2 separate regions of the Homo sapiens genome follow, and region 1 is linked to region 2. The links are contacts of gene promoters, found by promoter capture Hi-C in blood cells and fetal thymus (Javierre and others, 2016). All regions are on one chromosome and are shown on one strand. Each heading gives the region's core, a stretch centred on a gene start or on the middle of the fragment in contact. The rest is flanking DNA. Distances are from core to core; before and after follow the strand shown. Region 1 holds the start of CEACAM16 (CEA cell adhesion molecule 16, tectorial membrane component). Region 2 holds the start of APOC4 (apolipoprotein C4).

Evidence for each region. Contacts are between HindIII fragments. The CHiCAGO score rates a contact against its expected background, and 5 or more counts as called.
Region 1: a contact is called between the fragment with the promoter of CEACAM16 here and the fragment with the promoter of APOC4 in region 2, in 1 of 17 cell types (naive B cells). The highest score is 5.3, in naive B cells.

Annotation. Positions count from the first base shown.
Region 1 is chr19:44,695,978-44,702,657 of GRCh38, reverse strand. It overlaps CEACAM16 (CEA cell adhesion molecule 16, tectorial membrane component), which reads right to left and starts at 3,507. Exons shown (of 7, transcript NM_001039213.4): 1 at 3,398-3,507; 2 at 1,165-1,297. The coding sequence starts at 1,201. It overlaps CEACAM16-AS1 (CEACAM16, CEACAM19 and PVR antisense RNA 1), which reads left to right. Exons shown (of 2, transcript NR_186815.1): 2 at 3,481-3,620. RefSeq lists an enhancer at 5,335-5,940. The HindIII fragment of the contact is 17,086 bases long and covers 1-6,680 here.
Region 2 is chr19:44,939,248-44,945,512 of GRCh38, reverse strand. It overlaps APOC4 (apolipoprotein C4), which reads right to left and starts at 3,276. Exons shown (of 3, transcript NM_001646.3): 1 at 3,160-3,276; 2 at 623-764; 3 at 17-373. The coding sequence starts at 3,235. The coding sequence ends at 208. It overlaps APOC4-APOC2 (APOC4-APOC2 readthrough (NMD candidate)), which reads right to left and starts at 3,275. Exons shown (of 6, transcript NR_037932.1): 1 at 3,160-3,275; 2 at 623-764; 3 at 1-373. The HindIII fragment of the contact is 22,942 bases long and covers 1-6,265 here.

The sequences.
Region 1 (6,680 bases), core at 2,258-4,757, 240 kb after region 2:
AGCAGGGGTAAGATGAACACACTCCACCCCTTTCCTTCTCAACCAAGCAGATCAGCCCCAAGCCCGATGAGCTGGTCGGGGCTGCTTGGGTTTGAATGACGTGTGGTTTGAATGCCCGGAACGGGCGGCTGTGACAGTGCTCACGTCAAAAGGACTGACATGGCTGGCCAGCTTTCTGGTACTTTCCAGGCTGTTAGAGTGTGGCTAGGAGTGAGGGTCTCTGGGTCTAGCCCTCAGTCCTGCCACTCTCTGGCCGTGTGACAGCGGCCAATGGTTTCACCTTTCTGAGCCTCGTTTTCTCCCTATGAAGTGCGGTTCATGTGTGGGCCTCCCTCATAGGTGGTTTGGGGTTGTTTTTTTTTTTTGAGATGGAGTCTTGCTTTGTTGCCCAGGCTGGAGTGCAGTGGTGCAGTCTCGGCACACTGTGACCTCCACCTCCTGGATTCAAGTGATTCTCCTGCCTCAGCCTCCCGAGCAGCTGGGACTACAGGCATGTGCCACCACACCTAGCTAATTTTTTGTATTTTAGTAGAGATGGGGTTTTACTATGTTAACCAGGCTGGTCTTGAACTCCTGACCTCAGGTGATCCGCCCGCCTCGGCCTCCCAAAGTGCTGGGATTAGTGGTGTGAGCCACCTTGCCCGGCCCCTCATAGGTGGTTTTAAACCATGAGAAGCTCTCAGAACAGCTCCGGGCACACGGCATATGTGGTGCTGCTTATAATGACCTTTACATGACCCTGTCAGTGAGGCCCCATTCACAGGTGGGTACACAGAGGCTGAGAAGGGAAAGGCAACTGCCCTAAGCTACATCTTCCGGGAGAAACAGCTGCTGGGAAGAGTTTAGCCTCATCAAGGCTTCCATAGCTGATAAAACAGAAACCTGCAGGAATGAAGGAGCAACAGCGGCTCCCTTGTCCTGGCTTGTGCCCTGGGCTTAGAAATCTCCAAAGCCCACCCTGAAAACCTCTCTGGGTGGCTGTCCCCAGCCTGCCCAATGCAGATGCCTCTTGGAGGGGTAAACTGCCGGTGTGAAGCAGGGCTGCCCTCCCTCCCTAGCACGCTGGACTTCTGCTCACACCTTCCCTCTCTCAGACTGGGGGTCCCCTCCCCTCCCTGGGGTCCTCGGGGGGCTGAGGTGCTGGGGGGTGCCATTCTCGCTCACCACTGAGGAGCAGCCAGCTGTACCCAGTCAGCGCCATCTTTCACCCCAAACCGAGTCTTGGAGATGGTGGCGTTGAAGTCCCAGTGCTCGGACTCCCTTCCTGGTTGGGGCTCGGCTCCGTCTGCCGCAGGACCTGGGAGGGTTTGGTGATTTGGAGCCAGGGGAGATCACCTGAATTTGGAGGGATCGAGTCACCAAGGATCTGGGGCCCGGTTTGGGTACCAGGGTGGGTGTGGCGGGCACCGGCCAGAGGCCGTGACCTGGGCAGGCCTCCTGGGGCAGCCGCCTAACCCTCTTTGTGCCGAGGGCCTGGATTTGGTACTGGGAGAGGAACCAGGTCACCGAGGAGAAGAGAGGAAAAGTAGGGGAAGGTTTTCGGGTAGTTCTTACCAACCACCCAGGCCCGTGGCCTCCTCAGAGAGCCTGGGAGTCACCAAGGAAGAAAATCAGTAAAAGGTGACTGCACCTTTCCCAGCCCCACCCAGTGCAGGGGACCTACAGGTGTTGTCTCAGCGGATGGCAAAACAACCCTGTAAAGTGGGCACCTTTAGGACCCCCCTTTGCAGATGGAGATGAGCTAGGTGGGGACTCCCACTTGTCCGGGTTCCTGCAGGGAGAGGGGATTTGAGCCCTGCTCTGTGTGCAAACCCAGACAGAAGGGCAGGAAACTGTATGGCCACATGCTTTCTTTGGGGCTCTCCTTCTTGTTGGCTTCCTGCAAAGTGCTCAGAAGTTCACATTCTCTTTCTCCCACTTCGGAGGCCTTGTTTTCCCCTCTCTGTCAAATGGGCGTATTCGGAGGCTTTGGGGCCAAGGAGAGCTGAGTTTTGACACCAGCTCTGCACTTACCCAAAGTGGGGCTGGGGACAGTCCCTTGTTGAGTCTCCATTTATTATTCTGATAAATAGAGATGATGGCCGGGTGCACTGGCTCATGCCTGTCATCCCAGCACTTCGGGAGGCCAAGGCAGGCGGATCATTTGAGGTCAGGAGTTCGAGATCAGCCTGGCCAACATGGCGAAACCCCATCTCTACTAAAAATAATAATAATAAAAATAGCCAGGCGTGGTGGCAGGTGCCTGTAGTCCCAGCACTTTGGGAGGCTGAGATGGGCAGATCACCTGAGGTGAGGAGTTTGCAACCAGCCTGACCAACATGGCGAAACCCCGTCTCTATTAAAAATATAAGTTAGCTGGGTGTGGTGGCTAACGCCTGTAATCCCAACACTTTGGGAGGCCAAGGCAGGTGGCTCACGAGGTCAGGAGTTCGAGACCAGCCTGGCCAATATGGTGAAACCTCGTATGTACTAAAAATATAAAAAATTAGCTGGGTGTGGTGGTGTGCACCTGTAGTCCCAGCTACTCGAGAGGCTGAGGCAGGAGAATCTCTTGAACCCAGGAGGTGGAGGTTGCAGCGAGCTGAGATCACACCACTGCACTCCAGCCTGGGTGACAGAGTGAGACTCTATCTCAAAAAACAAAAGCAAAAACAAAAAATAAAAGTTAGCCGGTCATGGTGGCACATGCCTGTAATCCCAGCTACTAGGGAGGCTGAGGTAGGAGAATCGCTTGAATCCAGGAGGTAGAGGTTGCAGTGAGCCGAGATCCTGCCACTGCACTCCAGCCTGGGTGACAGAGCAAGACTCCATTTCAAAAACAAACAAAAAAATAGAGATGATATGGACCCTACTTCAGGTTTGTTGACAGCAGTTAGTGAGAGGCTACAAGTCAGGGATTTAAGCCAGAGCCTGGTGGACGTGGGTCTGATTGGTATGCCTGTTATTAAAAGTATAGGCTCTGGCCGGGCGTGGTGGCTCATGGCCGGACGCAGTGGCTCATGCCTGTAGTCCTAGCACTTTGGGAGGCCGAGGTGGGTGGATCAACTGAGGTCAGGAGTTCAAGACCAGCCTGGCCAGCATGGTGAAACCCTGTCTCTACTAAAAATACAAAAATTAGCTGGGTGTGGTCGCGGGCACCTGTAATCCCAGCTACTTGGGAGGCTGAAGCAGGAGAATTGCTTGAACCCTGGGCAAAAGAGTGAAACTCCATCTCAAAAAAAAAAAAGTATAGGCTCTGGACATAGTTCCACTGTTTCCTACCTCCAGGACCCTGGGCAATTTATGGACTCTGCCAAGCCTCAGTTTCCTTATTTGTAAAATAGGGAAAACAATAGTACTCACATCACAGGGCTGTTGAAAGGATTAAGTAGATACACATGTGAAGTACAGTACTTACCACGACTGGCGCAGAGTAAATGCTCAGTAAATCACTCATTCACTTATTGGACAAATACTGAATGAGCACCTATTGTTTGCCAGGTGCTGTTCTAGGCGCTGAGGATGCAGCCGTGCACAAGACGGATGAAATCCCTGCCCTCAGGGGGCCGACATTTGCGGAGTAAATAAAGGAAAGGTAAATATCTTCCACGTCAGATTGAAAAATAAAGTCAGAAAGGGGATTTGCCATTTTATTTTTTGTAGAGATGGGATCTCGCTATGTTGCTCTGCCTGGTCTCAAACTCTTGGCCTCAAGTGATCTTCCCACCTTGGCCTCCCAAAGTGCTGGGATTACAGCCATGAGCCACTGCCCCTGGCCTGGTTTGCTACTTTAAATTGGGGTGGAGGGAGGGTAACAGGGAAGGTGTCTCTGAGATGATGCTGGGCAGGAGCCGAGGGGGTTGTGGTGCCAGAGCTGCTGATAGCTGTGTTCTTATGACCTGCATCCTGATGGCTTCTGAGTCCTGGTTCCTCTGAGGCCTCTGCAGCCTGCTTCCGGGCAGGGGGCCACACCTGTGCTCACCTGTCCTGGTTTGCCTCCAGCACTGTGTCCTGGGCTGCCCTCGTGGGGCAGGGCTCTAACAAGGGGGAGAAGGCCCTGAGGAGGTGCGGGTGAGGCCAGGTGAGAGGCACAGAGGATGTCCTGGCGCCTCCTGCTCCCCTCTCCCCACCTGTGACCTCACCTCACTCTTCTGCGTCCTGGCCCAGAGCACTGGGACCTCATCCCAGTATCAATCAGGATGCCTCCCTGATGTCCCTGGGCACCTCTCACTCACCTTGTCCCAAACTGACCTTGGCATCTTCCCCCAGAAGTGTATCTTCCCCTGGTGCCCTTATCAGGGAAGGCGCCACTACCCACCTCATCGCTGGGAAAAGAGACCTGGGGCCTCATCCCTGATGCCTCCCCCTACTCCCCGAACACGCCACCCCTTCTGGCAACTGACTCTACGTATATCTTCTCTCCCTCCCTGAAGCCCCTGCCCTGGTCTAGGTGACCACTCCACCACCCCACCTTGCCTGGGTCCTCCTGTCTCCCCACCAGCCTCCTCCCTAGTCTCTGGCCCTGGTCTCCCCGACTCCCATTGCCCCTCCACATGGCAGACAGAGGCTCTTTCCAAAACAAAAACCTGCCTCTGCCCCTCCGTGCTCAGAACCTGCTGTGGCTCCCCAGTGCCCTTGGGAGGAAGCCCAGGTTCCTCACTGTAGCCCAGGAGGCCCTGCCCGGCCTGACTCCTGCCCACCTGACCAGCTACATAGAATACCACTTGCTTCCGGGAACCCTCTGCTTCAGTTCTTCTGTTTCACTTGCACTCTACCCAGAATATCCCTGCTTCCCTCTGCTCTATTCCACTGCCTTCCCCAAACCCTCTCCTCCAGGAAGCCCTCCTGGACTTCAGGGCCTGGAATTCCCTGTCTCAGCCCTGACTGCCTTGGGTTCTCGCTGTCTGGGGCTGGGTCTTTTTCCCCCACTGGCCTGGGAGCCTCAGCTGGGCACGGCTGGGCTGTCACCACTGTGTCCCCAGCACTGCCCAGCAAATCACCTGGCACAGAGCAGAGGCTCACAGCATGTTTGTGGAACTGGACACCAGGTGTGGATGACACAGAGAGAGGAGTCTTCAGAGAGGCTCAGGTTCCTGGTGATCTGCTGTCTGCCTGCGGAGTGTGACCAGGCCGGGCTCTAGAGGCCCTCTATCGTCACATCCACCCTTCCTAGTCTGCCCCCATCCTCCACCTCCCTGGCCCCTCCTCTGGTGCTCCCGGCTGTGAGCCCAGATCCTTGGTTCAGTCAAGAGCTGCAGGCTCTTTAGCACCTGCTGTGCGCCGCCGGGCTGCGCAGAAAGCAGACGGGGTTCTTGTGGGCAGGGGCTTTTTCCTGTTTGTGCAGTGGGTGGGGGGTGTTCATGACATTGACTTCCCTGGGACTCTTCTGAGGATCAAAATAGGCACATGGAGTGTTCCGTGCCGGGCCTGCCTCAGAGCACGTACTGGGGGCACAGTGGTCGTTGTTCCTCCACCATTTGACAAATGTTTATGGAGCACCAACTATGTGCCGGGCACTGCGCTAGGCGCTGTGGGGTTACAGCCGTGAATACGGTAGACACAGAGCTGACCTATTGATTGGGGAGACAGTTAATAGACGAATACAAACATGAGCAGTGTTAGAACAGGTGGGGACAATGCTGTGGAGAAAAATAAAGCAGGGGAAGGGATGGAGGTGGTCGGGGCACTGGTTTATGCAGGGCAGCAAGGCGACATTGTCAGAGCGACATTGGAGTAGAGGTTCAATAAGGGGGGCCGGGCGCGGTGGCTCACACCTGTAATCCCAGCATTTTGGGAGGCTGAGGCGGGAGGATGGCTTGAGCCCAGGAGTTCGAGACCAGCCTGGGCAGCGTAGAGCACGTCTCTACAAAAAAATTTAAAAATGAGCCAGGAGTGGTGTTGCACGCCTGTAGTCCCAGCTATTTGGCAGGCTGAGGTAGGAGGATCGCCTGAGCCCAGGAGGTTGAGTCTGCAGTGAGCTGTGATCTCACCACTGCACTCCAGCCTGGGCGACAGAGCAAGACCTTGTTGTCTCATTAAGAAAAAAAAAAAAAAAAAAGAGCGCATGCATACACAATAATGTAAAACAGATAATCAGTTTTTTATATTGATTCTGTGCTGAAATGACATTTTGCATATGTTGTGTTAAATACATTCGTTTCACCTTTCTTCATGAGATGAGGCTGGAAAAGGTTGAATTGTGTTTGCGGCTCCACTCTTGCTCCTGTTGGGTAGTGCTGGACCAGGCAGGAGGTAGTGGCGGCTGAACCAGGGATGGGAGAAGTGGTCAGCTTGTAGATGTATTCTGCTGATATCATTCTTCTTCTTCTTCTTCTTCTTCTTCTTTTTTAAATGGAGTCTTGATCTGTCATCCAGGCTGGAGTGCAGTGGTGCGATCTTGGCTCACTGCAACCTCCACCTCCCAAGTTCAAGCGATTCTCTCACCTCAGCCTCCCGAGTAGCTGGGATTACAAGCATGCGCCACCATGCCTGGCTAATTTTAATATTTTTAGTACAGACAGGGTTTTGACATGTTGGCCAGGCTGGTCTCAAACTCCTAACCTCAAGTGATCCACCTGCCTTGGCCTCTCAAAGTGCTGGGATTACAGGTGTGAGCCACCGTGCCTGGCCCATTATTCTTTTTGACAGCTTCAGCTTTTCCTGTTATCCATCTCCCCGCTGCCCACCCCCAAGAAAACCCA
Region 2 (6,265 bases), core at 2,027-4,526:
AGGATCCAGACAGGGACACAGGTGAGACTTTATTTATTGGAGAAGTATGAACTTTTTTTTTTCTTTTTGTTTTACCCCCAAGAGATCTCGCTGTGTTGCCCAGGCTGGTCTCGAACTCCTGGGCTCAAGCCATCATCCTACCTCAGCCTCCTGAGTAGCTGGGACTACAGGCACCCGCCACAACCACACCTGGCTTTTATGAACATTTTAACCCTGGTCCTTGTCCCCACAGACAAGCCTGGGGCACAGGCTGTGGGTCTTCTTCAAGAGGCTGTCTTTGGATTCGAGGAACCAGGCCTTGGTGAGCGGACCCAGGTCCCTCAGGTGGTCGTCATAGTAGGTCTGCATGAAGCCCCGGAAGGTGCTCGGGCTCCTACAGGAGAGAGGACATCACAGTGGAGGCCCCAGCTCTCCCCAGGTGTTCTCTGCCCCATTTATCCGCTCCTCTCTGTGACCTAGGAGTTCCTGCTCTCAGCTCTAACCCTCCACTCCTCCCAGACCTAGGGGTCACAGCCCCACTCCCACCCTTTCCTCCTCCCTGAGACTCAGGGGTCCAGGCCCCAGCCCCTCCTCCCTCAGACCCAGGAGTCCCCTCCCACCACCCAGCCCAGCACACCCTCACCAGAACCATTGCCACCCGTCTCTGGTCCTGTTCACCACTGTCTCCAGCAGCTCCTTCATCCTGCCCCTCACCAGGCTCCAGCGACTCATCTTTAGCTTTGGTGGGGGGCTCAGGGTTCCTTCCTGGGCCTCTGGCTGGCATGCTAGGTGGAACCAGAGGGCAACTTGGGTAGGCTGGGACCCTAGAATCCCCTTCTCCCTTTCCCTCCATGCTCATCCTGTGTCGCTCCCGGTGGCCCAGGGGCAGCCCCCTGCCAGTCCTCTTGCCTCCTGCCTTTACCCTTATGTGTCCCCTGACCGCTAACCCCTCTTTAACCATCAGCCATCTCTTTTTTTTTTTCTTTTTTCTTTTTTTTTATGAGACAGAGTCAGTCTCTTGCTCTGTTGCCCAGGGTGGAGTGCAGTGTCATGATCTCGTCTCATTGCAACCTCCACCTCCTGGATTCAGGCAATTTTCCTGCCTCAGCCTCCCGAGTAGCAGGGATTACAGGCATCTGCCATCATGCCCGGCTAATTTTTGTATTTTTAGAAGAGATGGGGTTTTGCCATGTTGGGGCCTCGAACTCCTGACCTCAAGTGATCCACCCACCTCGGGCTCCCAAAATGCTGGGATTACAGATGTGAGCCACCCCGTCCGGCTGGGCCATCTCTTCACCTTGTGTCAGTAGTCCCTCCTGTCACCCTGTCTGCCTGTGGTTCCCCTCTAATGGCCTCTCTAATTGCCATCCTCTGATGCCTCCCTTCACCACCTGATTTTGCTGCCCAGGAACTACCCCCTTCTCCCTTCGTTCTCCTGTGACCCCCACCCTGTCTGAGCTACCTCTGTGGACAGTGGAGGGAGAGCAGGAGGTGACTTTCTGCCCCCAGGGGCAGACATTGGCTTAGCCTTGCTGTCAGTTCCTCTTTCCGGGCCAGACCTTCTACCCACGCATCTGGACAAAGCCTCGCCTACAGAGACCAGCCGTCACGCGGGGGCCACATGTAGCTAGCTGTGTGCCTTGGCCGGTGACTTATCCTGTCTCCCCAGGACTGTTTCTCCTTTTGTAGAACGGGGTAATAATATCTACCTCAGGGTTATCGTGAGAATTAAGAGTTACTACATACGATGCACATGGAATGGTGCCTTGCACATTGTCTACATACGTGTTAAATTTTTTTTTTTTTTCAGACGGAGTCTCGCTCTGTCACCCAGGTTGGAATGCAGTGGCGCGATCTCGGCTCACTGCAACCTCTGCCTCCCGGGTTCAAGTGATTCTCCGGCCTCAGCCTCCCGAGTAGCTGGGACTACAGGCGCATGCCACCATGCATGGCTAATTTTTTGTATTTTTAGTAGAGATGGGTTTTTACCCATCTGTTAGCCAGGATGATCTCAAATCTCCTGACCTTGCGATCCACCCGCCTCGGCCTCCGAAAGTGCTGGGATTACAGGCATGAGCCACCGTGCCTGGCCCTGTATTAAAAATTTAAATTTCTACTGGATAATGCTGATCTAGAATATGATCCCATTTTAACATAAAGTACATGGCCGGGCGTGGTGGCTCATGCCTGTAATCCCAGCACTTTGGGAGGCCAAGGCGGGCGGATCACCTGAGGTCAGGATTTCAAGACCAGCCTGGGCAACATGGCAAAACCCTGTCTCTACCAAAAATATAAAAAAATTAGCCAGGCATTGGCCAGGCGCAGTGGCTCACGCCTATAATCCTAGCACTTTGGAAGGCCGAGGCAGGCGGATCACGAGGTCAGGATATGGAGACCATCCTGGCTAACACGGCGAAACCCCGTCTCTAGTAAAAATACAAAAAATTAGCCAGGCGTGGTGGTGGGCTCCTGTAGTCCCAGCTACTCGGGAGGCTGAGGCAGGAGAATGGCGTGAACCCGGGAGGCGGACGTTGCAGTGAGCCAAGATCACGCCACTGCACTCCAGCCTGGGTAACAGAGCGAGACTCCGTCTCAAAAAAAAAAAATTAGCCAGGCATGGTGGCGTGTGTCTGTAGTCCCAAATACTCTGAAGACTGAGGCAGGAGAATCCCTTGAAACGGGTAGGCGGATGATGCAGTGAGCCAAGATCGCACCACTGCTACCACTGCACTCCAGCCTGGGTGACAGAGTGAGACTCCGTCTCAAAAAAAAAAAAAAAAATGCATATGCAAAACACAGACGTACACACCAGCACACACTCACCCCCTCACACATGTCCACACACTCAAATATTTTGCACACACATACCCCACAGAGAGACAGGTGCACACAAATACACATATGCACACAGACATGCACTTTTTTACCACGACTGCATACTCCCACTTCCACGCACGCACGTGCACACACACAGATGATCCCAGTTTGTACCAATGTGACATTCACACTTCACTCTCAGCCACCGACACACACACTCCCCGACACGCACATGCATACGCACGCCATGAAACGCACACACTCCGTACTCATGTCTCACGTGGCTACAGAGCCACAGGACACACAGCCACACTCACACCCACCAGGTGTGGGCCCCACATCCCTCCACCCACTTCTTCTCACCCCCAATGCAGGCCAGGACCAGCACGCAGAGGCACAGGGCAGGCAGGGCCTGGAGCCTGTTTCTGAGGAGGGACATTTCTGGGGGTTCCGTGCCTCTGTCCCTCTGTGCTCAACTCTGCGGGCCGGGGGAGGGGAGGCTGCACAGAGCAGGGCCCTCCCCCGGCCACCTCCCCGCTTGGCAGAGACTTCAGAGAGCAGGGCCCAGGTGACAGTGGCAATCAGAGGTCATGCCTCTGTGGGCCTCCCTCCTTCTCACCCTCCCACACAGTGCCCTGAGAGAAGACAGAGGCTCTTGAGCCTCCTGCACTGAGGCAGGTTCAAATCCTGTCTCCACCTCCCATGACAGCCTCATTTGCTGGCCTCAGTTTCCTCCTCCATAAAGTGGGAGGCACAGTACATATTTCAGTATATTACTTGAACAAATACAAAGAAAGGCGCAGTGGCTCACGCCTGTAATCCCAGCACTTTGGGAGGCCGAGGTGGGCAGATCATATGAGGCCAGGAGTTTGAGACCAACCTGGCCAACATGGTGAAAAACCCTGTCCCTACTAAAAATACAAAAATTAGCCAGAAGTAGTGATGCGTGCCTGTAATCCCAGCTACTTGGGAGGCTGAGGCAGGAGAATGGCTTGAACCCGGGAAGTGAAGGCTGCAGTGAGCCGCGATCACACCACTGCACTCCAGCCTGGGTGACAGAGCAAGACTCTGTCTTGAAACAAAACAAAACAAAAAATGAAGAAAGCTCTTACCGTGGAGACTGGCAATATAGGTGCTCAAAGATCATTGCTGTTGGCCAGGCGCGGTGGCTCATGCCTGTAACCCCAACACTTTGGGAGGCCGAGGCAGGCGGATCACGAGGTCAGGAGATTGAGACCATCTTGGCTAACACGGTGAAACCCCATCTCTACTAAAAATATGAAAAATTAGCCAGGCGTGGTGGCAGGCGCCTGTAGTCCTAGCTACTCGGGAGGCTGAGGCAGGAGAATGGCGTGAACCTGGGAGGTGGAGCTTGCATTGAGCCGAGATCGCGCCACTGCAGTCCAGCCTGGGCGAAAGAGCAAGACTCCGTCTCAGAAAAAAAAAAAAGATCATTGCTGTTATTATTATCTTGTGTCTAATTTCTCCTAGTCACTGGGCTGCAGGGCCAGGCTTGTGGTAGGGCCTCAATAGGGCCCAAGGGTTGATGAGAGGAAATAGCAACACAGTCTCATGTCTCCAGCCTCTGTTTCTTCCTAGGTGGGCTCGAGCCCGATCACTTCCAAGCATTCCTTGAGTTCTCAATTCCAACTCTTTCTCCTCTGGGTGACTCTGGCTTCAGATGGACCTGGGCTTCGAATCCCTCACTTCTTCACCGTGTGACCTGGGCAAATACGTTTTCTTTTCTGGGGCTCAGTTTGTTCAACTGTAACACGGGGTTGATAGGGAGCACCTGCCTCCCAGTGTCCTCATGCAGGACGGCTGAGGCCTATGCAGGAGAGCTGCAGGTGCACATAGTAGGAGGTCATCAACATCAGGCCCAGGGCCAGGGCGGTGGCTCCCACCTGTAATCCCAGCACTTTGGGAGGCCGAGGCAGGCGGCTCACTTGAGGTCAGGAGTTCAAGACCAGCCTGGCCAACGTAGTGAAACCCCGTCTCTACTAAAAATACAAAAATTAGCCGGGTGTGGTGGAGCGAGACCTTGTCTCAAAAACAATAACAACAACAAAAACCAACAAAAAACCCACATCAGGCTCGGTCCCAGTGCCAGAAATAGAGCATTTTTCTCCTGAAGGACCCAGCTGCACCCCAGGGCACATGGCTCAGGGGACTATGGACTGGATTCTTTTTTTTTTTTTTGAGACAGAGTCTGGCTCTGTCGCCCAGGCTGGAGTGCTGTGGCGCGATCTCGGCTCACTGCAAGCTCCGCCTCCCAGGTTCACGCCATTCTCCTGCCTCAGCCTCCCGAGTAGCTGGGACTACAGGCACCCGCCACCACGCCCAGCTAATTTTTTGTATTTTTAGTAGAGACGGGGTTTCACCGTGTTAGCCAGGATGGTCTCGATCTCCTGACCTCGTGATCCGCCCGCCTCGGCCTCCCAAAGTGCTGGGATTACAGGCTTGAGCCACTGCGCCTGGCCTGGACTGGATTCTTTTGTCTACGCTTGCCAGACGAAATAGAGGAGGCCCAATTACATTTGAATTTCAAATCAACAGTGCATGACGTTTTAGTATAAATATGTCCCATGAAATATTTCAGAATTATACCAAAAAGTTTTTTTTGCTATTAATCTGAAATTCAAATGTAACTGAGCATCCTGTATTTTTACATGGCAAATCTGCAAACGCAACCTTGGCCACAACCTGAACAACTGTGCAGGACTGTCTTGACCCAGATGTCTGCCTTGGCAGAATCCTGTCCATCCCAGAGGCCCCAGCGTGAGCACAGTAGGTGCGCAACAGATGTCCCCTGGAATTCCTCTGTAGCAATCATCAGCAGATTGAAAACACCCAGAGTTTCTGTTTGGGATGACGAAGACATCCTGCAAATAGTGGGGATGGTTGCACAACAGTGTGAATGTACTTAATGCCACTGAACTGTACACCTAAAAATGGCTGCAATGGTTAAGTTTTTTTTTTTTTTTTTTTTTTTTTGAGGCAGAGTCTCACTCCGTCACCCAGGATAGAGTGCAATGGTGTGATCTTGGCTCACTGCAACCTCTGCCTCCCGGGTTCCAGCGATTCTCCTGCTTCAGCCTCCCGCGTAGCTGGGATTACAGGTGTGCGGCAACCACACCCGGCTAATTTTTTGTATGTATGTATGTATTTGAGACATAGTTTCGCTCTTGTTGCCCAGGCTGGAGTGCAATGGTGCGATCTTGACTCACTGCAACCTCCGCCTCCCGGGTTCAAGCGATTCTCCGGCCTCAGCCTCCTTAGTAGCTGGAATTATAAGCGCCTGCCACCATGCCCAGCTAATTTTTTGTATTTTTAGTAGAGACGGGGTTTCACAATGTTGGCCAGGTTGGTCTTGAACTCCTGACCTCAGGTGATCCACCTGCCTTGGCCTCTCAAAGTGCTGGGATTACAGGCGTGAGCCACCATGGCTGGCTCATTTTTTTGTATTTTT